Linked DNA regions of Homo sapiens: all the other regions are linked to region 1. Evidence: promoter capture Hi-C in 16 types of primary human blood cells and fetal thymus (Javierre and others, 2016). All regions are on one chromosome and are shown on one strand. Each heading gives the region's core, a stretch centred on a gene start or on the middle of the fragment in contact. The rest is flanking DNA. Distances are from core to core; before and after follow the strand shown.

Evidence for each region. The method cuts DNA at HindIII sites, captures the fragments that hold promoters and counts their contacts. A CHiCAGO score of 5 or more calls a contact.
Region 2: a contact is called between a fragment that was not itself captured here and the fragment with the promoter of ACVR1 in region 1, in 2 of 17 cell types (total CD4 T cells and fetal thymus). The highest score is 6.0, in total CD4 T cells.
Region 3: a fragment that was not itself captured here is called in contact with the fragment with the promoter of ACVR1 in region 1 in 1 of 17 cell types (activated CD4 T cells); the score reaches 8.1 in activated CD4 T cells.
Region 4: a contact is called between a fragment that was not itself captured here and the fragment with the promoter of ACVR1 in region 1, in 1 of 17 cell types (non-activated CD4 T cells). The highest score is 7.1, in non-activated CD4 T cells.
Region 5: a contact is called between a fragment that was not itself captured here and the fragment with the promoter of ACVR1 in region 1, in 1 of 17 cell types (non-activated CD4 T cells). The highest score is 5.0, in non-activated CD4 T cells.

The regions. Positions count from the first base shown.
Region 1 is chr2:157,875,030-157,877,832 of GRCh38, reverse strand. ACVR1 (activin A receptor type 1) reads left to right here and starts at 1,503. Exons shown (of 11, transcript NM_001111067.4): 1 at 1,503-2,037. LOC105373714 (a long non-coding RNA gene) reads right to left here and starts at 1,249. Exons shown (of 2, transcript XR_923518.3): 1 at 1,117-1,249. RefSeq lists silencers at 942-1,131, 1,152-1,391, 1,452-1,671, 1,682-1,731, 1,822-2,031 and an enhancer at 1,262-1,556. The HindIII fragment of the contact is 1,597 bases long and covers 588-2,184 here.
Region 2 is chr2:157,407,923-157,410,622 of GRCh38, reverse strand. No RefSeq gene overlaps it. Among named protein-coding and RNA genes, the nearest start is that of CYTIP, 35 kb to the left of the region's middle. The HindIII fragment of the contact is 6,019 bases long and covers 1-2,700 here.
Region 3 is chr2:157,509,578-157,512,339 of GRCh38, reverse strand. No RefSeq gene overlaps it. Among named protein-coding and RNA genes, the nearest start is that of CYTIP, 67 kb to the right of the region's middle. The HindIII fragment of the contact is 2,780 bases long and covers 1-2,677 here.
Region 4 is chr2:157,425,806-157,428,505 of GRCh38, reverse strand. CYTIP (cytohesin 1 interacting protein) reads left to right here. Exons shown (of 8, transcript NM_004288.5): 6 at 1,086-1,155. Among named protein-coding and RNA genes, the nearest start is that of CYTIP, 17 kb to the left of the region's middle. The HindIII fragment of the contact is 3,928 bases long and covers 1-2,700 here.
Region 5 is chr2:157,591,351-157,594,050 of GRCh38, reverse strand. All of the region lies in intron 1 of ACVR1C (activin A receptor type 1C), which reads left to right. Among named protein-coding and RNA genes, the nearest start is that of ACVR1C, 36 kb to the left of the region's middle. The HindIII fragment of the contact is 1,912 bases long and covers 457-2,368 here.

The sequences.
Region 1 (2,803 bases), core at 254-2,753:
AAGGGCCAGTTTGTACAATGAGGACTCCATGAATGTACATCATTGAGCTTCACAAGCTTTCACGTTTGTAATCTCATTTGAACTGCACAACCACCTCACGAGACAACCTGTATTCCCTTCTTAGGTTAAAAATGTGCCCCAGTTCAAAACAGTTTGTAAGTGGCAGAGCTGACACTTCAGCCAAGTGACAATGAGGGCCCTGTTACATCATTCTATAGAGCAGGGATACATATAGGTGCTCTTGCCTTGATTGGTACTGAACTTGCCTCTCCTGCTCCTCACCAATCATACAGGTACAAAGCTCTCTTTATGAAAAAAATGCTCCCACCTACTCCATCCTTTTGCTTACAGCTGGGGATTCTAGTTTTTTCACGTATATATGCCTTGTATTTCTAATTAGATTGTAAACTCCCAACCTGCAGGGACCAGATCTTCCATTTCCTTTGCAACCTTTTGCAGTACTGCAGTCACCCAATAAATGCCCTCTGCATGAATGAACCTGTAGAGATAAAAATACTTTATGGCATTCCCATTTATAGGTTTCATGTTTTTATTCTGCTTTGTGATAGGACTGTACATTATAAGCTTCTAGAGGGCAGAGAAAATGGCTTAGTGCTTTCCTTTACACTCAGCAGGAACCATGCAAAATTTGATCCTTGCATGCCTTTTTGATGCTCTGGGTAATATTAGCACACTGGGGTGTTTTTGTGTATCTAAGGACCGAGGTTATCAGACTCTCTGCAGCGGAGAATGTTCCTGCATTTCCACTGTAAGCTCCCATGGCGCCTAGGACAGGGCTAGATCACTGCAGAAGCCCCTCCATGCTTATTTCTGTTACTAAGGAAGCCAAAGGCGAACATGGCAAGCTCTGTCATAACCCTAGACCTTGCAAGGAAATGAGCAAAGTGGAAGGGGATCTGAAGGCAGGTCAGAGATGGCCTGGATGAGAATGCTAAGGCTTCTCTCTGAGAATCCAGCCCAAGTCTGACATGCAGGGCTCGAGTAGGTGGCCGCCCGCAGTCGCCGGGCCCGGGATGCCCGCCCGTCCGCCCGCCTGCCCCGCGCGCCCTCGGGAGCTGTCCAGACGGCCCCGCCCGCGCCTACCTGGGCACTCACCCGTGCCGCGCGGCCTCTTCTCCTCCCACCCCGGCCACAGGAGCCCAGCTCGGGCCTGCCCCGCCGCCTCCGAGGAGCCCCGCTGGCGGCGCGCTCATAGCTTCCACCCGGGCCAAGCGACCGGCCAGACAGCGCCAGGCGCGCCGGGGGCGGCGCGGTCAGGCTCGGCGGGGCTCGGCGGGCTCGCCCTCGGCCGGGCGCCTGCAGGGGGCGCGGGGACGGCCCCGCCCCGCCGCCTCCTCTCTCCCCTCCCGGCTCCCTGGATCCGCGCCGGGAGGAAATGATGTGTTGCTGCCTGGTTAATCACAGCTCCAGACACTCATTGGCCGAGCGCTCCGCAGCCACTTCCTCCTCCTCCTCCTCCCGCTCCTCCCGCTCCGGCTCCTGCTCTTTGCAGCCGCCGCCGCCGCCGCAGCCTCCCCCTCGGCGCAGGGGGAACTTTTCTACTCTCTGTGACGGTCTCCCCCGCCGCCCCCGGGGGCAAGCCCAGCTGGTCCGCCCGCCCCGCCCGCGGTCGTGCTCCCAGCCCGAGCCTCTGCGCCTCGGGAAGTTTATTCTGCCCGCCCTCCTCCCCTTCCTCCTCCTCTTCACCCCGCCTCCCCGCCCTCCCCCGGCTCTTTCCCCCGGGTGGCTGCCGCTGCCGCCGCTGCCGCTGCCAGCCTGCTCCTCGGCCAGCCGCGCCGGCCCCAGGGCCGGGAAGCTCCCGGCCCCACGCACCGCTCCGCTGCAGCCACCGCAGCCGCCGCCGCTCTGGGCCGGCCCTCGGCCCCCGGCTCCCGGCCCCGCAGAGTTCCGGGCTCCCTCGCCGGCTGCACCGCCCCGCCCCGCCCCGCGCCGCCCCGCGCCGCGCCGACCTGCAGCGCCCGGCTGCCTCGCACTCCGCCTCCCCCGGCTCAGCCCCCGGCCGCGGCGGGACCCGAGGTGAGCGCAGGTCGCCGGCCGCGCCTGCTGGAGCCGGGAGGACTGAGGGAGGAGGTAGCCTAGCGGGAGAAGAGGCAGGGATCGGGGGTGGCAGGGTGGGCGTCTGCGGTGCCTCCCCCTCGCTTTCATTCCTTTCTCCCCCAAGCTTGATCCCCTCTCCGTGGGGGAAGCAGCCGCGGAACAAAACTGTCTTGCTTTGGGCCTGAACTGCTGGTGGGATATGGGGGGTGGGGGGGCAGAGGCGTGGAGCGGGGGTCTCAGGTTTGTATTGGGGTGTGTGTGAGTGCGTGTGTGTGTGTGTGTGTGTTGTGAACTCCTTCAGGGTGTGCGACTCTGACTTGTAAATCGATCTGGCCGCGGGGCCACGGGGCTTACCTTCCTAGCTGAGCTTGTAGAGAGTAAGGAGATAGATAGGCGAATTTCCCCCACCCTCAAAATATCCATCTCTTCCAAGAGGAATTTTCTGCTGGAGAGACAGCCAATAAACTCTGCTCAACTCCCTCCCTCCCTCGGTTCTTCCTAGCTGCAGTTTCAAAAAGCTTCAAAGCCAGGAATGTGGGATTCATCTTCCGATCCCCAGAAGGCAAATGTGGTTACAGATGTTGCACGGTACTTTGCCAAGTTTAAAACCCTTCCTTCAACACTGTAACCAAAACAGTGAGGCTAGAACCTCGGGCGCACTAAGAAGAGATGTGGGCCTCTGGGGCCGCTGGATTCAGTAACTTCCGTCGGGTTCTAGACTGGCTCGGCTCTGTCCAGTTTGTGC
Region 2 (2,700 bases), core at 167-2,666, 470 kb after region 1:
TTTGTAGACATCAACAAATTAATTCTAAAGTTTATACGGAACGGCAAAAGACATATAATGGCCAAGAAAATACTGAAGAACAACAAAGTTGGAGGAATTACAATATCCTTTTAAAGACTTAATATAAAATATAGTCATCATTACAGCATGGTATTGGCAAAAGAATAGACAGATAAATCAGTGGAACAGAACAGAGTGCCTAGAAATAGACACACACAAATATAGTAATTATCTTTGACACAGAAGTAAAGTCAATTAAATGTAGAAAGGATAGTGTTTTCAACAAATGGTTCTGTCCAATATGCAAGCTCTTATATGTTTCACAAAAATTGACTCAAAATGGATCATAGACATAGGTATAAAACACAAAACTATAATACTTCTATAAGATAGCATAGGAGAAATTCTAGATTTCCTTTGGTGTCGTAATGAGTTTTTGGATACATCAAAAGGATGATTTATGAAAGAAAAAGTTGATACATTAGACTTTATAAAAATTAAAACTTCTGCTTTGTGAATGGCACTGTTCAGAGAATCAAAAGACAAGTCATAGGCTGTGAGAAAATATGGATATACAAACGGTTACATCTATAAGATGCAATATTATTCAGCTACAAAGAAATAATCTATCAAGTCATTAAAAGACACTATGAATCTTAAATGCATGTTGTTAGGTAAAAGAAACTAGTTTGAGAAGACTAATACTGTATGTTTCCATTTATATGACATGGTGGAAGAGGCAATACTATAGCAATAGTAAAGATATGAGTGGTTTTAAGGAGTTAGGGCTGGGAAGAAGGCATGGAGATGGTTGAATAGGAGGAAGACTGGTGAGTTTTATATAGTGATGAAACTCTTCTGTGCGATATTGTAATCTTGGATACATGACTCTGCATTTGCCAAAACCCATAGCACTTTACAGAATGAAGAGTTATCCTAAAAGCATGCAAATTATCAAAAAATCCACTTAGGTGGTTGGGGGATCCCAGGATAGAATGAAGAATGTGACAAAAACAATCTAACTGTATCAAAAATGTATAAAACAACTTAAGAGCGTGGAAAAAAAAGATGCTGAGCTAAGTAGCTCTGGAAATGATTGGAGTTTATAAAATGAAAGACAAAATAAAACACACAAAAACATTCTGCTCTAACAGAAAAACTTAACAGAAAAACTTGCTTTCCACATGAATACAATTAATAACTCTGACAGTGCTACATATGTATACTGCAATTGAAGAGTTAATAAATTCTTATGGCTGATAATGGGAGTCAGATTTCTTACTGTTGGATTCAAAGTTCACAGATAAGTAAGGGAGAATGCTAGATTAGACATCCGTATGCACTCAATATTAGCTTAATAAAAGTATGGATGATTACATACATAAATATTTATAGATATCTGTGTATGCATGAATTAGTTTATACACACTTATTTCCTTGCTCTGTCAGCTGAGAGGTCAAGGAAGTAATGACACTTTAGCAGCAATGAACACACATAGCACCAAGATCTTGGCTTCTAATACCATTCCCCAATAAAATAAACCAGAGTTACGTGGAGAAATGGCTTATTCTAGGTCTGGGGCAGGGAATGAACAAGAAGGGCCTGCAGCATCTTGTAATGTCAGAAAGTAATAAAATATTTTTAAAAAACCTTATAAAGATTGAGATATGTCAAAGGGAAATAGAAGTCAATCAGAAGGGCTCCTAATGGCCAAAGATGAAACACTTGGAGCAACAAATAAAACAGTATTAAATTATAACCCAAAATATAAAATAAGTATACATTCATGTGTCCATAGCGATATAAATAAATGACTGAGTAAATAATAAATGGAGTGAAGAGACAAACCTCCTGTATGGAAAAATTTCCCGTTACTTATGTAGATACTCCACCCTCAAGGAAGAGGAGCAGAACTCCTCATTCCTTAAGTGTGGGCTGAATATGATGACCTTTTTCCAAAGGGTATGGTATGGAAAAAGGGGAAAAGTAATTTAACAGTAGTGAAACCTGACAAACACTACTCCAGCCAGGTGATCGAGATCAACATCAATTGCCATAGGTTTATGTTGCTAATATGTGTCCTTGATATTATATAGTGAGAATGACACTTTGTCTCAGTGGTCCTCTTGCCCAGTACCCATAGCTTCAGTCTAATCATGAGAAAAACACCAAACAAATTCCAATTAAGAGATACTCTATAAAATATCCGCCAGCACTTCCCAAAACTGTCAAGATCATTAAAAATGAGTAGAGTGAGAGAATCTGTCATAGCCAAGAAAAGCCTAAGGAGACATGATGACTAAATAGAACATGGTATCCTGGAGAACAACCTGGAGCAGAAAAGGACACTAGGTAAAAAGGAATTCTGAATAAAGTTTAAACTTTAGTTAATAATGTGCCAATATTGGTTCAGTACTTGTAACAAATATACCATAATCACATTAGATGTGAATAATAGGAAACTGGGTACAAAGTATTTTTGCGCTCAGTCTCCCCTATTCACATCTAATATTGGGAACCCTGTGCTATCTTCACAATTTTTCTGTAAATATAAAATTGTTCTAAAAAATAAAGTTTACTAAAAAATAAGCACATTTTAATTAACTAAAAAGAGTAAAACGAATAAATAAAAACCACAGTGGAATAATAAAGTATTTGAATTAATTGAGAAAATTTAAATACTTTTTTAAATTTTATGT
Region 3 (2,762 bases), core at 38-2,537, 370 kb after region 1:
TACATTTTTCTCTAGTCTGACAACTTTTCACTTTTAAAAATTAGCGTGTGCAAGGAACAGAAAACCACACACCGCATGTTCTCATTCAGAAGCAAGAGTTGAACAATGAGAACACATGGACACAGGGAGGGGAACGACACACACCGGCGCCTGTCATGGCTTGCGGGGCGAGGGCAGGGAGAGCATCAGGACAAATAGCTAATGCATGCGGGACTTAAAACCTAGATGATGGGTTGATAGGTACAGCAAACCACCATGGCACATGTATACCTATGTAACAAACCTGCACATTCTGCACATGTATCCCTGAAACTTAAAGAAAAATAAAAAAAAATTGGAGTGTACAGACCATTTATAGTTAACATAATTATCAACATAATTAATTTTAATTTTATTACCTTACTATTTTTTCCACTTTGCTCATCTCCTTTTTTTTTTACTTTTTCTTGTTTTTGATTAGTTCATTATTTTTAATATTCCAATTTATTTTCTCTATGACTTATTAGTGATTTTGCTTTTTTTTAGGGTGTGTTTTATGATTTACAATATACATTTTTAACTTATCATAATCTACCTTCAAAAACTGTTATGCCACATTACATATAATAACAATCTTACAAAGTATTTTTAGTTTTCTCCCTCCTGTCCTTTTTATTTTGGTTGTCATACATTTTATTTCTGTATCTATTTAAATTTCACAATGTAGCGATGTAATTTTTTGCTTTAAACAGTCCATTTTAAATAAATTACATTGAAAATATTTTTAATATGAACATTTTTTTCTCATATTTACTATAGCTGATGCTTGTAACTTCTTTGTATAGATCTGAGTTTGGACTGATATTACTTTTTTCAGTCAGAAGATTATTTTTAATATTCCTTATAGAGCATGAAATTCTCTCAGCTTTTTTTAGTTTAAAAATACCTTCATTTTTGAAGGATATTTTCAGTGGACATAGAATTCTAAGCAGTTTTGGGGATTTTCTGGCTTATTTTTGTCAGCACATTAAATACATTGTTTTATCTTCTAATTTGCATTGTTTCTGACAAGGTCAGGAGTAATTCTCTTTCTCTGTTTGTATTGTAACTTTTTTTTTTTTTGCCATCTTAAGATTTTTTTTTTTTCTGAAAAACCATCTTAAGATGGGTTTTCAGAAATGTTATTATAATGGGCTTAGGTGTGCTTTTTGTTTGTTTTTATCCTACTTTTGTTCCACTGAACTTCTTGGATTTGTGTGTTTATGGTTTTCATTAAATCTGCAAAATTTCTGTGCACCACTATGTCTTCAGAGTTGTTTTTCTATTCCATGCACTATTTCCTCTATTCTAGGGTGCTTCAAATACATGTATATCAGACAACTTGATATTGTTCCATAGGTAACTGAGGTTCTCATTTTTCTGCAGCTTCTTTTTTTCTCTGTACTTCAATTTGATTCATTTCTATTGCTTATTTATTAAAGTTTATTACTCCTTTATTTTGCATTTTAAAATCTCCTAATATACCCTTCCAGTGAAGTTTTCATTTTGGATACTGTATTTCTTAGCCCTAGAAGTATCACTTGTCTCTTTTATATAGCTTCCATTTGTTTACTATTTCTATATTTGCTTTAGTGCTTGACCATATTTATAATAGCTATTTTCAAATCTTTGTCTTTCTCTGAGTCTGTTTTTTTAAAACTGCCCTTTCATTTATGAATTATATTTTTTCTCTTTGCATACCCAGTAATTTATTATTAGACACTGGACATTGTAAAGGTTACATTATTGAGTATCTGGATCTTATTGCCATCCTTTCAGGAGAGTTGAAGTTTGATTTGGAAGGCATCTAAGAGCACTGAAGAATAGTTTGCTCCTTTTAAGTGTTGTTTTTAAGTTTTGTAAGGGAAGGTCTAGAGTAGCTTTAACGCTAGGACTAGTTTAATCTTACTACAAAGGTGTAATCCTCCTGGATTTCAACTGAATGCCCCAGGTTTCAGTAAATTCTCTACATTCTTCTTGGTCAGTACACAGACATCTCCCAAACTCTGTGTGAACTCTGGGGATTGTTCTTTTTACTGCTTCTCAAAAATTGTTCTTTGCTTTGTTTCATGAAGGTTCTCCTAAGTAGGTACTACGTAGCATTTAGAAAAAGACTCAAGGGTACCTCACTGCAGAGTTTCAAAGTTGCTTCCTTGTGAAGCTCCCTCTGGTTCTGCAAATACCAGTTATCTTAGACTTGTCAAACTTCAATATCTGTCTCCTTCACTTAGCAAGACTGCCATGTGATAGCTTAGCTTGGTTCAGCCTTTCTCCTCACAATCTTTCAAGAAGTGCCTCTAGGAAAAGAAAGACCCTGGGCAATAGTGGGGCTCGGTGTTTCCCTTATTTTAGGGATTATAATCCTATGCTGCCACCTGTTGTTAAATGCCTGAGTTTTATTTTATATGTGTATATATATAGTTATATATATATATTTCACACGTATTTCACACATATATTTCACACATATGTTATACATATATATATGTTTCATTCATATGTATATATCTTTTTTTTCTCCTGATTTTTAGCTGTTTATGGCAGGAGGGCAATTTTAGTACCAGATAGCCTGTCATGGATGGAAGCAGAAGTCCCTGTTTTAATTTGTAAGATTTTTAATGTGTTATATTTTGTTTATTCAATTACTGATTTAAAAGCTTATTTATTCTATGGACTAGGTCTTTTGAGACTGAATCAAGTCAAGTGCAACAGAGTAATAAATGCCTAAAATAAAATTTTGGACA
Region 4 (2,700 bases), core at 201-2,700, 450 kb after region 1:
CAGGTCAAACTGACATTCAATCCCAATGAAACAGATTCATATGGATTCCCACTATTTCTCAGAGAGTCAAGATCACCTTAAGGAGAAAACAGACAGTATATAGCTTGCTACCACCTGATTATTCCTGGCATGATGCTATTAGAAGTAGAAGACTGATCTCCACATTTAATGCTTTTACCATGCCTTGAAAAATTCCTTGCATCTTTATAGAGAGGTACAGCTTAATTACAAGAAGGAACTTGAACCAACACTTTAAAAATTGGTGTGTGATTCACAAATGAAATTTTTAAATCATATTCAGATTGATGGTTTAGTAGTCAAAATAAAAGCCTTTAACTTGAACACACAGAACAAATCAAATCACTCAGAATAGAACAAGTATTTTATTTTTAGAAATGTGTGTGGTGTGGGAAGAACAGAACACTGGTAAGTTGATAATTCTAGGATTAGAGTTTGTAAACTGAATGTTTTGAGATAAAGAATCATATGAAGGTTATTATGTCATAGTAGTTGTACTTCTGTTTCTTCTAGTACCAAAATTATAAGGAGATTTACAGAGGTAAAGGCTCCTAGAATCCTATGGAGGAAAGGATTTCTCCCTCTTTCAAGAAGTAGCATGTTAATTCCATGGTTGTGAAAGCCCCTAGAGCCTATTATTTCTGTTGTTGTGCCCCTTGTGTTCAGCATGGTTTCTAGAATCTGGTACATAGTAGATGCCCAATAAATATTTACCAAATGAGTGAGGTCATTCAGCCCATCCCCACAAGAACAGATTCTAGTAGAGAGCAGCCATCATTGTCACATAGTGACTTCTATAAAATAAGCTATAGTTTACAAATTAACTAGGATCCTTTCTTTTAGCCACCTTCTCAAGGGGAGTTTTCCCCCATTTTCTTTCTCTGTTATCAGAAGATTTGGCTTTGGTCCAGCTACTCGAAGTGCCATGAGAACTGTAACATTTGTATTTCGTTTTTAGTATAGTATGTGCTCAAAGTGTAGTACTCTGTAGTATGGTACTTATTTAAACGAATCACTCATGTTACTCACTCCCCACCTTCCTCTTCTTTTTTTTTTCCTTAAAACAGGATAGAGACTCTTAATGGAACAATGATTCTGAAAAGAACGGAGCTTGAAGCAAAGCTGCAGGTTTTAAAGGTAATTTAATTTAATGCAGTGAGGCACATTTTTCATCCTTGAATGTGTGAGTGGTAAAATAAAGATCTATTTGAGGAACTGAGATAGCCCTTGAAAAAGAAATGTCGTGGTGAATCTAAACTGCTGAATTATCAAGAGCCGCACAATTACCTTTGGAGGAATATCAAATTCTGCAAACCAGTGTAAATCACTTTCTTCCTTCCTCCTTCTGTGTGTCTATGAGGCTCAGAAAGGCAACAGGAAGGCATGCCACTTGAAGAACTCTTCATTAGTGCACCTGTGATCTCTATTGATTTACATTTTGTTTGGAATTAAAACAAAAAAGGTCATTATTTTCCCAAGTGTGTTGGAGGGCCTGGGTTTTTCACTTTTTCCGTGTCCTCTTTTGGTGTCCTTCTCTTCTGCCTCATCCTTAAAACGAAAACCTTATCCGTCTAATCCTGTGACTGTCCTTGAATCTGCTTTCATTGGCAAATACACTAGCAAATTCAAAGGAGGAAGAAATTAGCGTCCAAGAGATAGTAAATAATGCAGGAGGTCCATTGAAAATTCCCTGGGATGGTTTTTTGAGGCTTTTAAAAATCTCAGTTTTCTGGGCTGATGAGGGTCTCCTAAGCCATGAAGTCCAGACCCTCACTCATGCATCTGAGTCATAGTTCTAAAGACCTCTCTGTTTGTCTCAGTGACCTCTGCATCCCAATCTCCCCCTTGCAGAGCAACCAGGTAGCCAATCTGAGCAGAGATTGTAGTTTACTTTAAGCAGGTTGCTTACTTTGGCTTTATTTAGAAATAGCTGCCATTTGTTAGTTTTCTTCATGAAATATGAGCTTATTAATTATTGAGCCCAAGAGAGTGGATTTTATTTTGTATCTTTTTCTTCCTCCACATCCAACTCATCAACAAGTCTTGCTTTCTTTGTCAACATTGGTTTGGATACTCTTGCCACTGTGCTTATCTCTGTGCTTTGTTAAATCAATTTATAGAATTCCTTGAAAAAACCTCTGCTCAAATTTTGACAGGAATTGAATTGTATTTATGAAATAAATGAGAGCAATTAAAATCTTTATGGCTTTCACTTTTCTCACTTTGAATTCAGGATCTCAATCTTTTTATTCAGATCTTTTATGGACTTAAAAAATATTTTGTAATTATCTTCCTATATTTTTACATATCATTTATTATATTCATTCTTGTTTACTTCCTCATTGTTCTTGCTATATTAATCTTTTAATTTTCAGCCACTTATTGCTAATGATTTTGTTTAAATTTAAAAAATCCAGTTTTGTTGAACTCCCTTTATTCTAATAATAATTTTTATAGATTTCCTTATATTTTCTATATAGATTTCTTATCATTTGCAGATAATAAAATTTTTTGCCCCTTTAGCTCAATTATTGAAACTAATTTATTTTTCCTCTCCTATAGCATTGGCTAGGATCATCAATATACTGTAAATAATGGTAATCTTATGGTTGACTTTAAAGAAAACATTTCTAACATTTTTGTTGCTACATTTTTATGAGGGGTAAACAGTGGTTCATATTG
Region 5 (2,700 bases), core at 163-2,662, 280 kb after region 1:
TTCATTCCTTCTCAGCTCTAAGGGTGAGGCCTTCTTTAACAGGGAACGTAATTGCTACTTTGTGCAAAGGAACAGTTTTTCTTTGTGATGGATGTTTTCCCTTATTTGTGGAGTTCTGAATTTTTTTGGTTGCAGCCTGAGAAGTAGTATTTCTACCAGCTGAATCTTTATTGAAAGCTCATTTGGCCAAAAAAGTTTGCATTTATATTGCCCATATTTTATTAATGCTACTTTCTTTCTTTCTTTTTTCTGTTTTTCCTTACTGTTAAGAAAGGCAAATGCTTTGAAATGACCACATGACAAGAAAATAAAATTTTGACAAGGAATAGAAAAGGAAGCTAGATCTTTGCCCGATTTCCTTTGACCCTGTCTGGCTTTCCTTCAGATTTGCTAGTGCTAGTTTTCCTGGCTTCTTTCCTGCTGCTGTACTTTTCATATTCAGCACACTGAAAAGCTTGAATTGTTCCCTTTGTTAACTCAGAAGCCTGCAAATGATGAAAAGATTACATATTCAGCAGGTCAAATCTGAGACAGTTTTCTGAATTAAAAAAATATTTTGTGTTTCATAGCCTGGTCTAAAACTAGAGAAATTGAATAAACTAATGTCTGGAAAAGAAGAAAGAGTTTATGTCAGATGTTTATGTTAAGCACTGGTTAATTTTAGCATATAGACTCCAAACAAAGGAAACGTAGTAATATGTAACCAACATATTGAGAATACTGTCTAATTCAAAACACCTAATATTTGCCAAATAAATATTTGGCTTTCTAATAAGAATAGCACATAAATGCGGATCAACAAATTTGGTTCTTTTTTGTAGTCAGATGGTTTTTATATTTCTGGACACCAGGGTGTGCTAGCCATCACATGTAAATATGGATGAATATTTATTTTCTGGTTGGTTAGGAATGTGCACATCCTTTAGTTGATGTGGGTAACAGATGTCTTGTGGGTAACAGATGTCTTGCCTTTTAGAGACGAATTGGCAAAGAGTGGATAAAAGGGGATAATTAAAGGGGTAGGAGGAGACAAAAGCAAAGTACAATCTTCCTTGTGGTGAAAAATCTAATAAACCTCCTTATTATGGGTAATTGTTTTCCTTCTTCAACCTCATTTGCTGTCCCTTTCCATAGGACTCAAATACATTGTAATGGGAAAGTATAAAATAAACATGAGACAAGACTACTGCCTACTAACAACCAGATTTGTTCTGTCACAGAATATTGTAGTATAATTGACTCAATGAACATCAGTTTTTTTTGAAAGAGACAAAATATGAAATCATGTCTAATCACTAATGGCAACTTATATTGTAATTGGCAGCACAAAGGTTCTATGTTGAGGATGATTAATATAAATATAGTTGAATTATATGTCAAATGCAGTGATATAGTGGACTGGTGGGAAATGAAATATGAGAGGCTGAGTATGTCGTATGTTACTTATTCATCTTAGGTCCTATTTAGTTTGCTGTTTGTTCGCTGTCAGTCCTATCATACTGCCAGTTGAACTGGAATAAATGGGAACATGTAGCAGATGTTTGAAGCCATTATCATTAACAAATCCTCAATTTTGCCAGTGTTTTTCATCGTGCAAGATTTAAAGTAAGGTGTCACTTTCTGTCTTAACTATATCACCTATGTCTATATTATTCTTAAGATTTGTAACTTTTACTTTTAACCAGGATAAATTTTTATAGCTTGTGAAACATTCAGTGAGTATCCGCATAAATCCTTGGTAAGAACTATTATGTAATCATTTTTATAAGGAGCCAGTAGTGCTTCAAAGAGAAAGTATCAGATTATGTACTCAGAGCCTTACTTAATACAGAATTTAGATAAAGCTGTAAGGTGAGATTGTTTATTTTAGATGCAAGGCACATGATATTGAATTTTATTTGACTGCATGTCCCCTCAGAAAATAGGTAGGTAGAATTTGTTTCAAAAATACCAACTGTGTTTTAAAGGCTATTAGAATAATACAGATCAGAATCCTAGTTTTCAATTGTTAATTAGTTATCAGCTTCTTTCTGCTGTATTAGAATTCTATTTTATTCACAATTGCTAGAAATTTGTGGGGTGGGAGAATTGTTCACCTACCCATTTCTTTATGGCACCTTAGTCATGAAAGGTACCATTGCTTGAGTAGTCCAGAGACTGTTACGTAAGTCAGTCACTTTGTCTTTTTGAGCCTCATTTTGTTATGTATGAAATGGAGATAGTGACAACTAACTCCCACAGTTGCAGTGGGATTATATGAGATGACGAATGCATGTGAAACTAACATATATTTAATTGTTGAGTGCTTTATGATTGTCTTCACTCTGTGGATTCATATTCCTTAGTTAGTTGTGTCAGTTGCTAAGCTTTTCTTGGAAATAGAGCGTCCAAGGAGATTCTGATGAAATGTCTAGTGACAAATGGTTTGAGATTGTGTGTCAGAAGAGTTACTCTTTTTCCTGCCTTTAGCCCCTTAAAATATGCAAGTGAAGAATAACCATAGTGCAGCAAGTTTCTTAACATTAAATGAGTTTTCCTATTTTGTAATTGTAGATTTCCATAAGGTGTAAATAAGTAGGGTCATAAAATATTGGTGTTATGTAAGAGTTTAAGATTTTTGGACCCACTTTCCCTATGCTGTTCATTTTCTATTTTCAGAGGACAACACTGAGGCTCTGTAAGGTTAAATGTCTTCTCCAA